Regions from separate parts of the Homo sapiens genome. Here all the other regions are linked to region 1. Evidence: promoter capture Hi-C in human tissues and cell types (Jung and others, 2019). All regions are on one chromosome and are shown on one strand. Each heading gives the region's core, a stretch centred on a gene start or on the middle of the fragment in contact. The rest is flanking DNA. Distances are from core to core; before and after follow the strand shown.

The links. Contacts are between HindIII fragments. The study calls those that stand out against the background at their distance.
Region 2: a fragment that was not itself captured here is called in contact with the fragment with the promoter of ATP8B1 in region 1 in 2 of the 25 tissues and cell types used here (hippocampus and pancreas).
Region 3: a fragment that was not itself captured here is called in contact with the fragment with the promoter of ATP8B1 in region 1 in 7 of the 25 tissues and cell types used here (IMR-90 fibroblasts, aorta, hippocampus and 4 more).

What each region holds. Positions count from the first base shown.
Region 1 is chr18:57,800,895-57,805,248 of GRCh38, forward strand. ATP8B1 (ATPase phospholipid transporting 8B1) reads right to left here and starts at 2,421. Exons shown (of 28, transcript NM_001374385.1): 1 at 2,104-2,421. RefSeq lists an enhancer at 2,041-2,678. The HindIII fragment of the contact is 14,543 bases long and covers 1-4,354 here.
Region 2 is chr18:57,847,468-57,851,821 of GRCh38, forward strand. No RefSeq gene overlaps it. Among named protein-coding and RNA genes, the nearest start is that of ATP8B1, 46 kb to the left of the region's middle. The HindIII fragment of the contact is 6,491 bases long and covers 1-4,354 here.
Region 3 is chr18:57,761,759-57,766,112 of GRCh38, forward strand. The region is part of intron 1 of ATP8B1 (ATPase phospholipid transporting 8B1); the gene reads right to left. It also overlaps the pseudogene MRPS17P7. Among named protein-coding and RNA genes, the nearest start is that of ATP8B1, 39 kb to the right of the region's middle. The HindIII fragment of the contact is 4,120 bases long and covers 290-4,354 here.

The sequences.
Region 1 (4,354 bases), core at 1,171-3,670:
CAGCCAGATCTGGTAGTGACTCCATTAGCACTAAGATCCCCTAGACTGAAAATCAGATTAAACATAAAATCAGTCCTGAACTTGCCTTACCACCGAAGACTTCTTTTTGCGAAGCCATTTGCTGTACCACATTATTATTTTTAAACTTCTATTGAACAAAAAACAAAACAAAACCTCTCCCAGTTCTATCACTAGGATGTAATAACATGTGCACACAGGTGTGTGTGTTCCTTAAAATCCATAAGGAAAACTTGAAAGCAGCCAGAGCTGACCTCACACAGGTGGCATCTGTGTTGGACAGTAATAACCAAAAGAGTCTTGCTCGGCCCTTAATAACCCACGCAAAGAATCACTAAAAGTTACTAAAATACAGCCACTGGAAAACGACGAATGAACAAAGTGGTTAATGTTCCTTCCCAAAATTATAGCAAGGAAAACTCCACCACCTAATGAAAATCATTAAGAGAATTCAGAGGAGTTAACTGCAGGCAGGCGTGACTTCTCCCCCAGAAAGTAATCAGCTAATAAGCATTAATCATCTTGTGCACAGTCTGCGCATTTATAATAGGGTTTAATAAAGCCTTCAACAACAGGCCCAGAATTAATGAACGGCATCTTAGGTCTAACACAAAAGTATTCCTTAGCGGACGAAAATTAGCGCTTCTACTTCACATTTGCTGTCGTGTCCCCCATATATACGGGCTCGTATTCACTATCCCTGGAGGCTTTATCACGCGTGGTTTTTTTTAGCTTTTGTTCCTGAAAGCAGTTAACCTTCATCGATAACCTACCGTGTGCCGGGTGATCTCCAAACATCCCACTAGTTTTTTCTTTTTTTAGTTTCCCATGGGTAGTGGCAAAATTTTGAAGGCAATGCAACCAGGAAGATGGGAGCGAATATTTTCTCACGCCAACAGGGAGGCCAGTTTCCGGGAGAGGAACTCGGCGGCGTCTGGAGCTACCCAGGAAGAGCTTGCAGCCCCCAAGGGCAGCGCGTGCAGGCCAAGGGGGTCGGGTAGGGTTGAGCGGGTACTCACCGGGCAGAAGCGCGGCCCAAGTCCTCCTTACTTCTGCGTGTCAATCCCCCTTCCCCAATTTGCATCCTTACTGCAATCCAGTCTCCCCCGTACAACCGTCACGGATCTGCGCTCCGAGCACCGCCCCCCCCCGCAACCAGCCACCAACCCCCGGCAGGGACCACAGGCACACGCCTCCGTCGGAAAAGTTGGGCAGACACTTCAGAACTTTTCTTTCACTTTGGGGAGAAGGAGGGAGTTGGAGAAGTGGGGGCGAGGGGTGTTAAAGCACTGGGCCATTCTCTGCAACATCTCCCCGCGCCCCCCAACAAGTTGCCCCTCCTCGTGCACACAGCGAGGTGACAGCGCAGGGCACCAAACTGCTGAGGGAAGGAGATGCCTGCAGCCATCTCAGCGGGGCTGGCGGACGCGACCCGACAGTCACCGGAAAAACAGTGGTGTCGGTCTTCCCCATCACCTCCCCTCCCCATCCCACAATAAAGCGCACGGAAGATGTCTGGGAGTACCTGGCCCTGCCACAGGAGCTGGGGAGGAGAGCGATCTCACCCCCTCCATCCCTCCCGGCAGGTGGGCCGCGGTCAGATACGTTTGGCCCGCAAGTCCTTTTCGGACACGTTGGCATCTGCTCCCAAAGAGCGCCCCAGCAGGACCCGGTCACCGGGGTCTTCCAGAGGGGCGGTAGCCACCGCACAGGAGCCAGCGGCATCCCCCAAGGAGCCGCAAGCCCTACCTGGCTTAACCCCCGGACATGTGTGTCGCTACCGATCGAAGAACCCAAACACCCCGAGATTTCCCTCCTCTAGGCAGGTGAAAACCCCACGGAACTCTCCGCAGCGCTGCCTGCCCAGCCGGCCGTGTCTCGCCGTCCCCGAGGCCTCGGGGGCTCCCAGCACCTCCACCCAAATCCCACCTGTGCGGGCTCGGGAGTCCGAGGGCGCTGACAGCTGCTGCCGCCGCATCCCGGATCTCCAAAGTGCGGCGGGAGCGGCCAGGGAACCTGCAGGACACCGCCGGGCCAAGGGGCTTGGGAAGGTCTGGGGGCCCCCGGCGCCGCACCCCTGCTTACCTGGCGTTCGCTGGGCCCCGGCTGGGGCATCCGCCTGGTGCGCGCCGCTCGGAGCGCTCGCTGCGCACCTGGCCGCTGCCGCCGCCCGCCCGGCCCCAGCCCTGGCCGCCGCGCTAGCGCTGCATGGCGCACGGGGGCTGGCCGGGGGCCCGGGGAAGCGTGTCTAGTTGGCGGCGGCACCTCCGGCTCTCGCGGCTCGCTAGTGGCTCCCCCGCCTTTCCCCGCCCCGCGTCCGTGCACCCTTCCTCTGCAGCCGCCCTTTTGCCTCCGCTCCGCCGGACCGGCCAAACTGGTTTCTCCGCTCGGGGAGGTGCCTCTGGTTTCCCTCCAGCAGCCGCGGCCGCCGAGCCTCGCTGGGGCTGGGGCTGGGGCTGGAGGCGGGCTCGGCCTTCTCCCCTCCCTTTTTCCCTCCCTAGGGCGGAGAGGGGCTGGACTGCAAGCCCCGGGGCGGCCCGAGGCGGCCCAGGTCCAGCTCCTGCCCCACGCCCTCCGTGCGTCCTGGAGTCAGGTGGGCACCCCTTTCAGTCTTCCGAGCCCAGCCTACGAGCCCTTGCCTCGCCCAGCCTGAGACCCAGTTGCTGCGGCTGCTCTTAGCTCCCCGGGGGCCGCACTCGCCACCACACCTCTCCAGCCCAGCGTCACTTTCCCGCTGCCCTTGGCTGGCTTGGCCGTCACCCCGGGTCGAGGACTGAGCCAGCCTGGAAAGCTGGCGGGGCCGCGGCGCGCCCGGGACCTGAGCTCCCTCGGTAAGGGGAGCTGTGTCCTCTTGATGCCAAGTCATGTTTGGGGACCGGTCACCGAATGCGCGTCAAAGTTCGCCGCGTGGAGGGTGAAGAAAGAGGCTGCGCCTCAAGACTTCCAGAAACGTATCCTGTGATTGCAGCCAGCAGGCTTTCTGCCGAGTCCAAACGCTATCGAGTTTTTTTGGGTTTGGAGTCAAAAGGAGTTAAGGTGCGGCCCGTGAACCACGCGGTGTAGGTGGAAATTTTGGACTCAGCGCCTCGTTGCTGGCTGGTGTCTGAGCGGGTGAATCGTGCCTCCCTGGCAGTATAGACATTACCCTCCTTCTTGAGTAGACTTTTGCCGCTCCCCGACTATGGACCGAGTCGTTGGGATAAGAATGGAGGAAAATCAAAGATCAGAGTTTGCTTAAAATGCAGTAGGGGAGCCAGGACTCCCACACGATTCCCAGTCACCTAGAGGCTCACATCTATGCCCAAGAGTCCAGACTCCCAACTGGGTCATCACAGAGGCTTCCTACAGGAGGCCGTGCTTGATGGGACTCAAAGATCCACAGCTTTAAGGATCAGAGTTGTGTAGAGAGGGTATTCAACGGGTGGCCAACTGGTAGAATCTTGTCTGATACCAACCCCGAGGCTGCTCTAGGCTTCTTTTTCATGAGTCAAACTTGATCTCTGACTAGGTGCTGGTCAGTCACTCAATCTATCCAGGCCTCAGTTTCCTCATTTGTAAAATGAGATTGGACCAGATGGTCTCTTCCAGCACTTATATTCTGAAGCTAACGACAGAACAAAGGTACCGATGCAAGAGAACATAGGGCCTGTTGGTGACACTGGTTGATCTAAGACATTTAGACTTGTTTTTGGTAGCACCTGCAAACCGTTGACAATTTAGGACCGAGCATGAGCATGATCAAGGTTGTGTTTTAGGGAAAATAATAGGGAGATAGTCTAGAGAGGATAAAACTGAAGATGGGAGAATCACTTGAGAGGCTGGGACAGCGACATACGGAGGAGTTGCCAGGGGAAGTAAAAAGGAGGAAATTCAAGGGACACCACAGAAGAGAGATAGGGCACGAAGTGGCCACAACCTGCAACTGACTGGGAGAGGGGAGCAATGGAAGGTGAGCCAGGTTCTCAAGACTGGGTTATGGCATGCAAGGAGCAGCAGACTCCAAAGGAGGGAAGCCGTTTAGGAAGACTCTGCCCCTATCTGGATAAATGCCAGCAAACCTAGGAATCAAGAGGGGATTCCAGACTAAAGGGGGCACCCCCTCCTTGCAGATCCACTACCAAGTGCTCAACCTGTCCAAGAAAATGTTACATAGAAGAGACTAAACAAGGACGCATCCAATCTACACCTGTACCTAGATCTGATCAATACCATTCTGATGTCTGCATTTATTTACTTGTTTATTTATTTATAGAGACAGGGTTGGGTTTCACTATGTTGCCCAGGCTTGTCTTGAACTCCCCAGTTCAAGCGGTCCACCTGCCTCAGCCCCCCAAGG
Region 2 (4,354 bases), core at 1,159-3,658, 47 kb after region 1:
AAGGAGGAGCAAGTCACATCTTATGTGGATGGCAGCAGGCAAAGAGAGAGCTTATGCAGGGAAACTCTCATTTTTAAAACCATCAGATCTTGTGAGACCCATTCACTATCATGAGAACAGCACGAGAAAGTCCCGTCCTCATAATTCAATCATCTCTCACTGGGTCCCTCCCACAACAAGTGGGAATTATGGGAGCTACAAGATGAGATTTGGATGGGGTCACAGAGCCAAACCATATCAGACAGAAATGATGAAAGGCTGAAAATTAATGAGCTGAGTATCTATCTAAAGAACTTAAAGAGCCACAAAATAAGCCCAAAGAATATAAAATAAGTAAATATATAGTAGTAATAAGAAAGTAAGTAGAAAGTAAGTAGTAGAAAGATAAGAATAGAAAACAATGAAATAGAAAACAAATATACTGCTGGGTGCGGTGGCTCACGCCTGTAATCCCAACACTTTGGGAGGCTGAAGGCCAGGAGTTCAAGACCAGCCTGGACAACATAGAGAGACCTCACCTCTATTTAAAAAAAAAAAAAAAAAAATTAGCCTGGTGTGGTGGCATGTGCCTGTAGTCCCAGCTATTTGGGAGGCTGAGGCGAGAGGATTGCTTGAGCCCAGGAGGTGGAGGCTGCAGTGAGCCATGATTGTGCCACTGCACTCCAGCCGAAGTGACAGAGGGAGATCCTCTCTCGAAAAGAAAAGAAAACAAGCATGCAATAGAGAGGAATGACACAATCATAAGGTGATTCCTTCATGAGAATAATAAGATGGCAAAACTCTGGAAAGAGAGTGAGAACACATATAATGTTATGAACGAAGAAAGAACATTACAAGCCAGGCACAGTGGCTCACGCCTGCAATCCCAGTACGTTGGGAAGCCAAAGTGGGCAGATTGCTTGAGGCCAGGAGTTTGAGACAAGCCTGAGCAACATAGCAAGACTCCATCTCTACAAAAAAAATACAAAAATTAGGTGGGTATTGTGGCATGCACCTGTGGTCCTAGCTACTTGGGAGGCTGAGGTGGAAGGATTGCTTAAGCCCAGGAGGTTAAGGCTGCAGTGAGCCATGATCACACCACTGCATTCCAGCCTGGGTGACTGAGCAAGATTCTATCTCAAAAAAAAAAAAAAAAAGAAAAAGGAAAAGGAACATTACTTAAGCGCCACAGACATTAAAAAGATATGAGTAAGTTGTGAACAACTTTTTGCCAGTTCATTTGAAAAATTAAGTTAAATGGACAATTTCATATAGACATATATTATATAGGAATCTCTATCATAATAAGTGAGTACAAAGTGAGTAATTGTAATGCTCAGATCTGGGGAGGATGGAATCTCAGGGAGGGGAGCTGCATTTCCACTGATATTTGGTGATCTAGGAGCGGGTGCCTGAGAGGCTGATCAATGCTTTTGGACAACCTTGCAGGGATTGCAGGGAGAGGTGCACTGGCATCCTGGAGTCCAGGGCTGCCAAGAAGGTAAGGCCCCGATGAGCAACTTTTGCTTTGTGTTAGAACCCTGAAGGGCTACACGCTATGAATAGGGGTGAACTAGAATATAACACACTATTGTTGGGACTGCAGCTCAACCTCAAATCTTCCCAGTCTCTCAAATTGGATTGCTAGTGTTCCAGGCTCCTGGCAGGGGCAAATTTCTCTAGAGAAAGATGGCATCAACCTAGGCATCAAATTATTTCTAAAAATAATTTTGCAAATATAAAGTCCAGCACAGAATAAAAAACAACAAGGCAGCCAGGCACAGTGGCTCATGCCTGTAATCCCAGCGCTTTGGGGGGCCGAGGCAGGTGATCACTTGATGTCAGGAGTTCGAGACCAGCCTGGCCAACATGGTGAAACCCTGCCTCTATTAAAAATACAAAAAATAGGCGTGCTGGCGCAGGCTTATAATCCCAGTTACTCGAGAGACTGAGGCAGGCGAATTGCTTAAACCTGGGAGGTGGAGATTGCAGTGAGCCAAGATCCCACCACTGCACTCCAGCCTGGGCTACAGAGTGAGACTCCATCTAAAAAAAGAAAATAAAAGAGAAGAAAAAAGACAGCCAGGCCACATGTGGAGACAAAATACTATATGAGCAAAAAAGAGCAGAACTAGCAAAAATTGAAACAGACCTAAAGGAACTCCAGATACTGGAGTTAGCAGACAAGACTTGCTTATGATATTCAAGATTAAAAGCAAGACATAATTTCAGCAGAGATCTGAAAACTACAAAAAAGACCCACTACAAGAAAGGATTATTTCAGGCTAATCTCACTCATGAAAATAGTTGTAAAAATCCTATGCAAAATATTTACAAATAGAATCCAACAATATGCAAATAGGCAATAAGTAATGATCAAGTTGGGTGTTTTTTTTTCCCCAGGAAAAGAAGATTTATTTAGCACTCAAAAATCAACCATTGTAATTATCTACATTACCAGAACAGAGGAGAAAAAAATGTAAAATCACGTCAAAAGATGTAGAAAAAAATTTGATTACATTCGGTATCCATTCGGTATCCATTTGTCATCAATGGAAAAAATAAAAAGAAACTTCCTTATCTGATAATGAGCATCTACAAAAAGCCTATTGTGAACACCATAATTAATAGTTAAATGTTGAAAATTTTCTTTTGATTTGGGGAATAGGGCAAGTATGTTGGCTAAGTCCTCTTGGAAGCAGACGTCAAGATGGATTTAGAAGTGCAATGGATTTATTGGAGGCAATTCCCATGAAAGCTCAAGAGGGGAGGCAGCAAGAGAGGGCAGAGAAAGCTTCAGACCTAAATGCTGATCTGACCCCTGTGCAAGGAGAAGGGAAGGAAGAGGATAAGGTAGGAAGAACAGCAAATTACACTGCAGCTCTGAGAATATCTTGACTAGCCGAATGGGGAGCTGTGGCTCAAAGATTTCCCATGGAGGAGTCCCACACCGGCCAAAAAGATGAGTCCTTGCATCACTGCCAAGCCCATTAATTGATTGAAGGCTGCTCTGGAAATCTATGGCCCAGCTCAAAAGCTGAAGAAGATGCTGAAGGTGCCTGCAGCCAGAAGCTGTGAGCCAACTGCACTCTCCAAGGCAGGTTTTTTTTTTTTTTTTTTTTTTTTGAGATGGAGTCTCACTCTCACCCAGGCTGGAGTGCAGTGGCATGATCTCGACTCACTGCAACCTGCACCTCCCAGGTTCAAGCAATTCTTCTGCCTCAGCCTCTCTAGTAGCTGGGACTACAGGCGTGTGCTACCACGCATGGCTAATTTTTGTATTTTTTGTAGAAATGGGGTTTCACCATGTTGGCCAGGCTGGTCTCAAACTCCTGAGCTCAGGTGATCCAACTGCCCCAGCTTCCCAAAATGCTGGAATTACAGGCATGAGCCACCGCACCTGGCTTCTGTTTTGAAGGAAGATATGAGAGACTCACCTCCACATCTGCCACAAGAATATTCAATATCACCACTTCTATTCAATATTGTACTAGAGGTCCCAGTCAGGGAATAAAGAATAGAAAAATACAGAGAATAAATTTAGAAATTTAGAAAGAAACACTACTGATGTTATTTGAAGATTTAGAAAGAAATGTATACATTTAGAAACTCTACTGACGTTATTTGAAAGTTATATGGCTGTGTATATACAATATTCTAAAGGAATATATAAATAAGCATTTAGAATAAGTGAGTTAAGCAATTTTGTTGCATATAATGTCTACGTAAAAAGGCAACTGTGGCCTAGTGCAGTGGCTCACGCCTGTAATCCCAGCACTTTGGGAGGCCAACGTGGGAGGATCACAAGGTCAGGAGTTCGAGACGAGCCTGACCAACATGGTGAAACCCTGTCTCTACTAAAAATAAAAAAATTAACCGGGCATGGTGCCACACACCTGTAATCCCAGCTACTCAGGAGGCTGAGGCAGGAGAATCGCTTGAACCTGGGAGGCGGAGGTTGCAGTGAGCCAAGATGGCACCACTGCACTCCAGCCTGGGCAACAGAGTGAGACTCCGTCAAAAAAAAAAGTCACTTGCATCCTTAAATAGCAGTAGCATAGAAAAATAAGGTATCAGGCCAAGTGCACTGGTTCATGCCTATAATTCCAGCACTTTGGGAGGTTGAGGCAGGAGGATGGCTTGACCCCAGGAGATCAAGACCAACCTAAGCTAGGCAACATAGGTAAGACCCTGTCTCAACAAAAAATAAAAATATCGACCAGGCATGGTGGCACATGCCTGTAGTCCCAGCTACTTAGAAGGCTGAGGTGGAAGGATTGCTTGAGCCCAGGAGGTCGAGGTTGAAATAAGCCATGCTGGTACCACTTCACTCCAGCCTTGGTGACAGAGAGAGACCCTGTCTAAAACAAACAAA
Region 3 (4,354 bases), core at 1,100-3,599, 39 kb before region 1:
TCTGGCCAACATGGTGAAACCCCATCTCTAAAAATACAAAAATTAGCTGGGCATGGTGGTACACACCTGTAGTCCAAGCTGCTCGGGAGGCTGAGGCAGGAAAATCACTTGAACCTGGGAGGTGGAGGTTGCAGTGAGCCGAGATTGCGCCACTGCACTCCAGCCTGGTGACAGAGCAAGACTGTTAAAAAAAAAAAAAAAAAAAAAAAGGATTATTACTGAATAGTTTTAGGTTTACGGAAAAATGGAGTGGCAATCCCCACATATCCTTTCAGCCCCGTGCCTTAGTGTACGCTGTTCACATCTTGCATTAGAGTGGCACATTTGTTACAACTGATGAGCCAATAATGAGATACACACACACACACATATATATATATATATTTTTTTTTTCTTTTGAGACAGGGTCTCACTCTGTTACCCAGGCTGTAGTGCAGTAATGTGATCTCGGCTCACTGCAACCCCCATTTCCCAGGTTCAAGCGATTCTCCTGCCTCAGCCTCCTGAGTAACTGGGACTACAGGTGCCCGCCAACACGCCTGGCTAATTTTTGTATTTTCAGTAGAGACAGGGTTTCACCATGTTGGCCAGGCTGGTCTTGAACTCCTGACCTCAAGTGATCTGCCCGCGTCAGCCCCCCGAAGTGCTGAGATTACAGGTGTGAGCCAATGTGCCCGGCCCCAGTAATGACATATTGTAACTAAAGTCCCTAGTTTACATGAAGTCCACAGTTCACTAGGGTTCACTCTTTGTTGTGTGGGGTTTGGCAAATGTATAGTGACACACATGGTACCTAGTTGAAAGAATGCCCTCTTGCATTAAGTCTTACTCTCAAGAGTGGAACACACAGTAAAGGCAGAAGAGGAGAGCAATAGGCTGCTTATATCCCGTGATCCTCAAGTGATGACAAATCGAAGATATTTACAGTGAACAGTGGTGCATGTGCCCAGCACCATAAACATGAACCTACTTACTTTTTTGCTTTTTCATTGTTCCTTTTTAACACTTGGAATATCTTTCCTACAGCAATACTCTCTGTTACTTAAACTACCAAACCCATTATCTCCTGATGAAGCAATGTGCTTCCCAAACGTAGTAATTCAAGGCTGTGTCTTTACAGCCTTGAACAATCTTTTAAAAATCTGAGACATAGCAACCAGATGTTGATAGAGATTACTTCTCTTGATCCAAAGATAACTGGCACTTGGAGTTCTAAGAAAGTCAGGAGTTCAAAGAATGAGAATCTAAGTGAGGGAAAATGAACTCCTTGAACACACGTTTTTTGCACTGTTATCAAGTCATTTCTTAGGATTGATTGTCAGAATGAAATGGTTGTTAAAAAATTGTACTCTAGGCCGGGCGCGGTGGCTCATGCCTGTAATCCCAGCACTTTGGGAAGCCGAAGCGGGCAGATCACCTGAGGTCAAGGTTCGAGACCAGCCTGACCAACATGGAGAGGCCCTGTCTCTACTAAAAATACAAAATCAGCCGGGCTTGGTGGCACGTGCCTATAATCCCAGCTACTAGGGAGGCTAAGGCAGGAGATTCGCTTGAACCTGGGAGGCGGAGATTGCGGTGAGCCGAGATCGTGCCACAGCACTCCAGCCTGGGCAAGAAGAGCGAAACCCCATCTCAAAAGAAAAAAAAAAAATTGTACTCTAAAGATAGAGCTCTGTTTCCACAAATTGTATCAGAAACGAGAGGTAACATTTCAACATTTAAGCTTTCATATGCATTTATTTTTCAAATTCCAACAAACATTTTCAAGTTTGTTAGAACTAAACAGAACCTACTAGAATCAATTCTATTGATGTCATTTCTTTTAACATAGCAACTTATCACACAATAAGTACTCAATGTCTGGGTTTTAATTGACCAAGTAAGTAAATTGAAGAAAGTTTGGAAAACTTTCTCTTCCTCTGACACAATTCTTCACTGTTCTTTTTTTTGGGGGGCGGGGGGATGAAGCTTTGAAAAATTTATTTTTGCATAACATAAACATGTCAATCTTTCCCTTTAGCTCCTTCCACTCCTCCTTCAGTGTGCCGAAGAGATACTGAGTTCTTCCAGATTTTTGCTTAGCTGGGTAGTTTCTAAACTCAACAGACTCTCCAGGTAGGTAGTTCCTGCACGGGGCTTTCCTGTCACTGGATCTATGACTTTTCCAACTTTGAAAATGATCTTGGCCTGTTCATGTTTCACATGCTTCGTTCATGGGACAGGTAAAGCTCTGAGAAGCACGATATCCCCAGCTGTGCACTGCCGAAGGCCATCGTGAACAAAGGAGGTTTTCCACTTATTATAATACTTTAATAAATAGGGATCCAGAACAAGCCCGGTCACTCTCGCTTTAGCAGTCTTTTGTATTTTTGTCCCAATCACCTTCCCCACGATCCATCTGGCATGGACAGATGAACGAACGACGGACATGATGTGGCTTTGGTCACCTCCGCCATGACTGTGCAGCCACCTGCCCCAGGGAGCCTGCCTTCCTTCCTTCCTTCTTTCCTTCCTTCCTTCCTTCTTTCTTTCTTCTTTTCTTCCTTCCTTCTTTCTTTCTTTCTTTTTCTTTCTTTCTTTCTTTTTCTTTCTTTCTCTCCCTCTTTCTTTCTTTCTTTCTCTTTTTCTCTCTTTCTCTCTTTCTTTCTTTCTCTCTTTCTCTCTTTCTTTCTTTCTTTCATACCGAGTCTTGCTCTGTAGCCCAGGCTGGAGTGCAGTGGTGTGATCTCGGCTCACTGCAACCTCTGCCTCCTGGGTTCAAGTGTTTCTCCTGCCTCAGCCTCCTCAGTAGCTGTGATTACAAGCTCCTGCCACCACACCCGGCTAATTTTTGTATTTTTAGTAGAGATGGGGTTTTACCATGTTAGGCAGGCTGGTCTCAAACTCCTGGCCTCAAGTGATCCACCTGCCTCAGCCTCCCAAAATGCTAGGATTACAGGTGTGAGACACTGTGCCCAGCCTGACACTATTCTTGAATTAACTTTTCACTTTCAGTTGTCAAAAAAAAAAAAAAAAAAAAAAACAGAAAATAAGTGTTGGTGAGGCTGCAGAGGAGTTGAAACACTTTTGCACTGCCAGTGGGAATATAAAACGGTGTAGCCACTGTGGAAAACAGCATAATGGTTCCTCAAAAAATAAACATAGAATTACCATAGGATCTAGCAATCTCACTTCTGGGTATATACCCAAAAGAATTGAAGGCAGGAATCCGAGCAGATATTTATACAGTAGACCCATGTTCACAACAGTGATATTCACAAAAGCAAAGAGGTAGAAACAATCCAAATGCTATCTGATAACTGGATACACAAAATGTGGTATAGAGACAAGGAACTATCATTTGGCCTTAAAAAGGAAATCCTGGCACATGCATAAAGACATGCTAAGTAAAATAAACCAGTCACAGAAGGACACATGATGTATGATTTCACTTACATTAGGAATGCAGAGTAGGCAAATTCAGAGACAGAAAGCAGGATGATGGTTGCCAAAGGTTGGGAGGAAGGGGAGTTGTTTAATGAGTGCAGAGCTTCAGTTGGAGAAGAACTTCTGGAGGTGGATGGCGGTGATGGCTGCACAACCATGTGAATGCCCTTAAAGACACTGAAGTGTATAATTAAAAATGGTTGGGTCGGGTGCAGTGGCTCATGCCTTTAATCCCAGCACTTTGGGAGGTCAAGGCAGGCGGATCACAAGGTCAGGAGTTCGAGACCAGCCTGGTCAATATGGTGAAACCGCGTCTCTACTAAAAATACAAAAAATTAGCCAGACATAGTGGCGGGCACCTGTAGTCCCAGCTACTTAGGAGGTTAAGGCAGGAAAATTGCTTGAACCCAGGAGGTGGAGGTTGCAGTAAGCCAAGATCGCGCCACTGCACTCTAGCCTGGGTGACAGAGTGAGACTCTGTCTCAAAAGAAAAAAAAAAAAAAAGGTTAAGGTCAAGCGCATTGGCTCACACCTGTAATCCGAGCACTTTGGGAAGCTGACTGGATCATCTGAGGGCAGGAGTTAGAGACCAGTCTGGCCAACATGGTGAAACCCCGTCTTTACTAAAAATACAAAAATTAGCCGGGCATGGTGGCAGGTGCCTGTAATCTCAGCTACTCAGGAGGCTGAGGCAGGAGAATCGCTCGAACCCCGGAGGCAGAGGTTGCAGTGAGCTGAGATCATGCTATTGCACTCCAGCTGGGGCAACAAAGCAAGACTCTGTCTCAAAAAGAAAAAAAAAAATGTTAAGATGGTAGATTGTATGTTGTGTATATTTTATCACAATAATTTTTTTTTCTTTTCTTTTCTTTTTTTGAGACAGAGTTTTGCTCTTGTTGCCCAGGCTGGAGTGCAATGGTGCCATCTT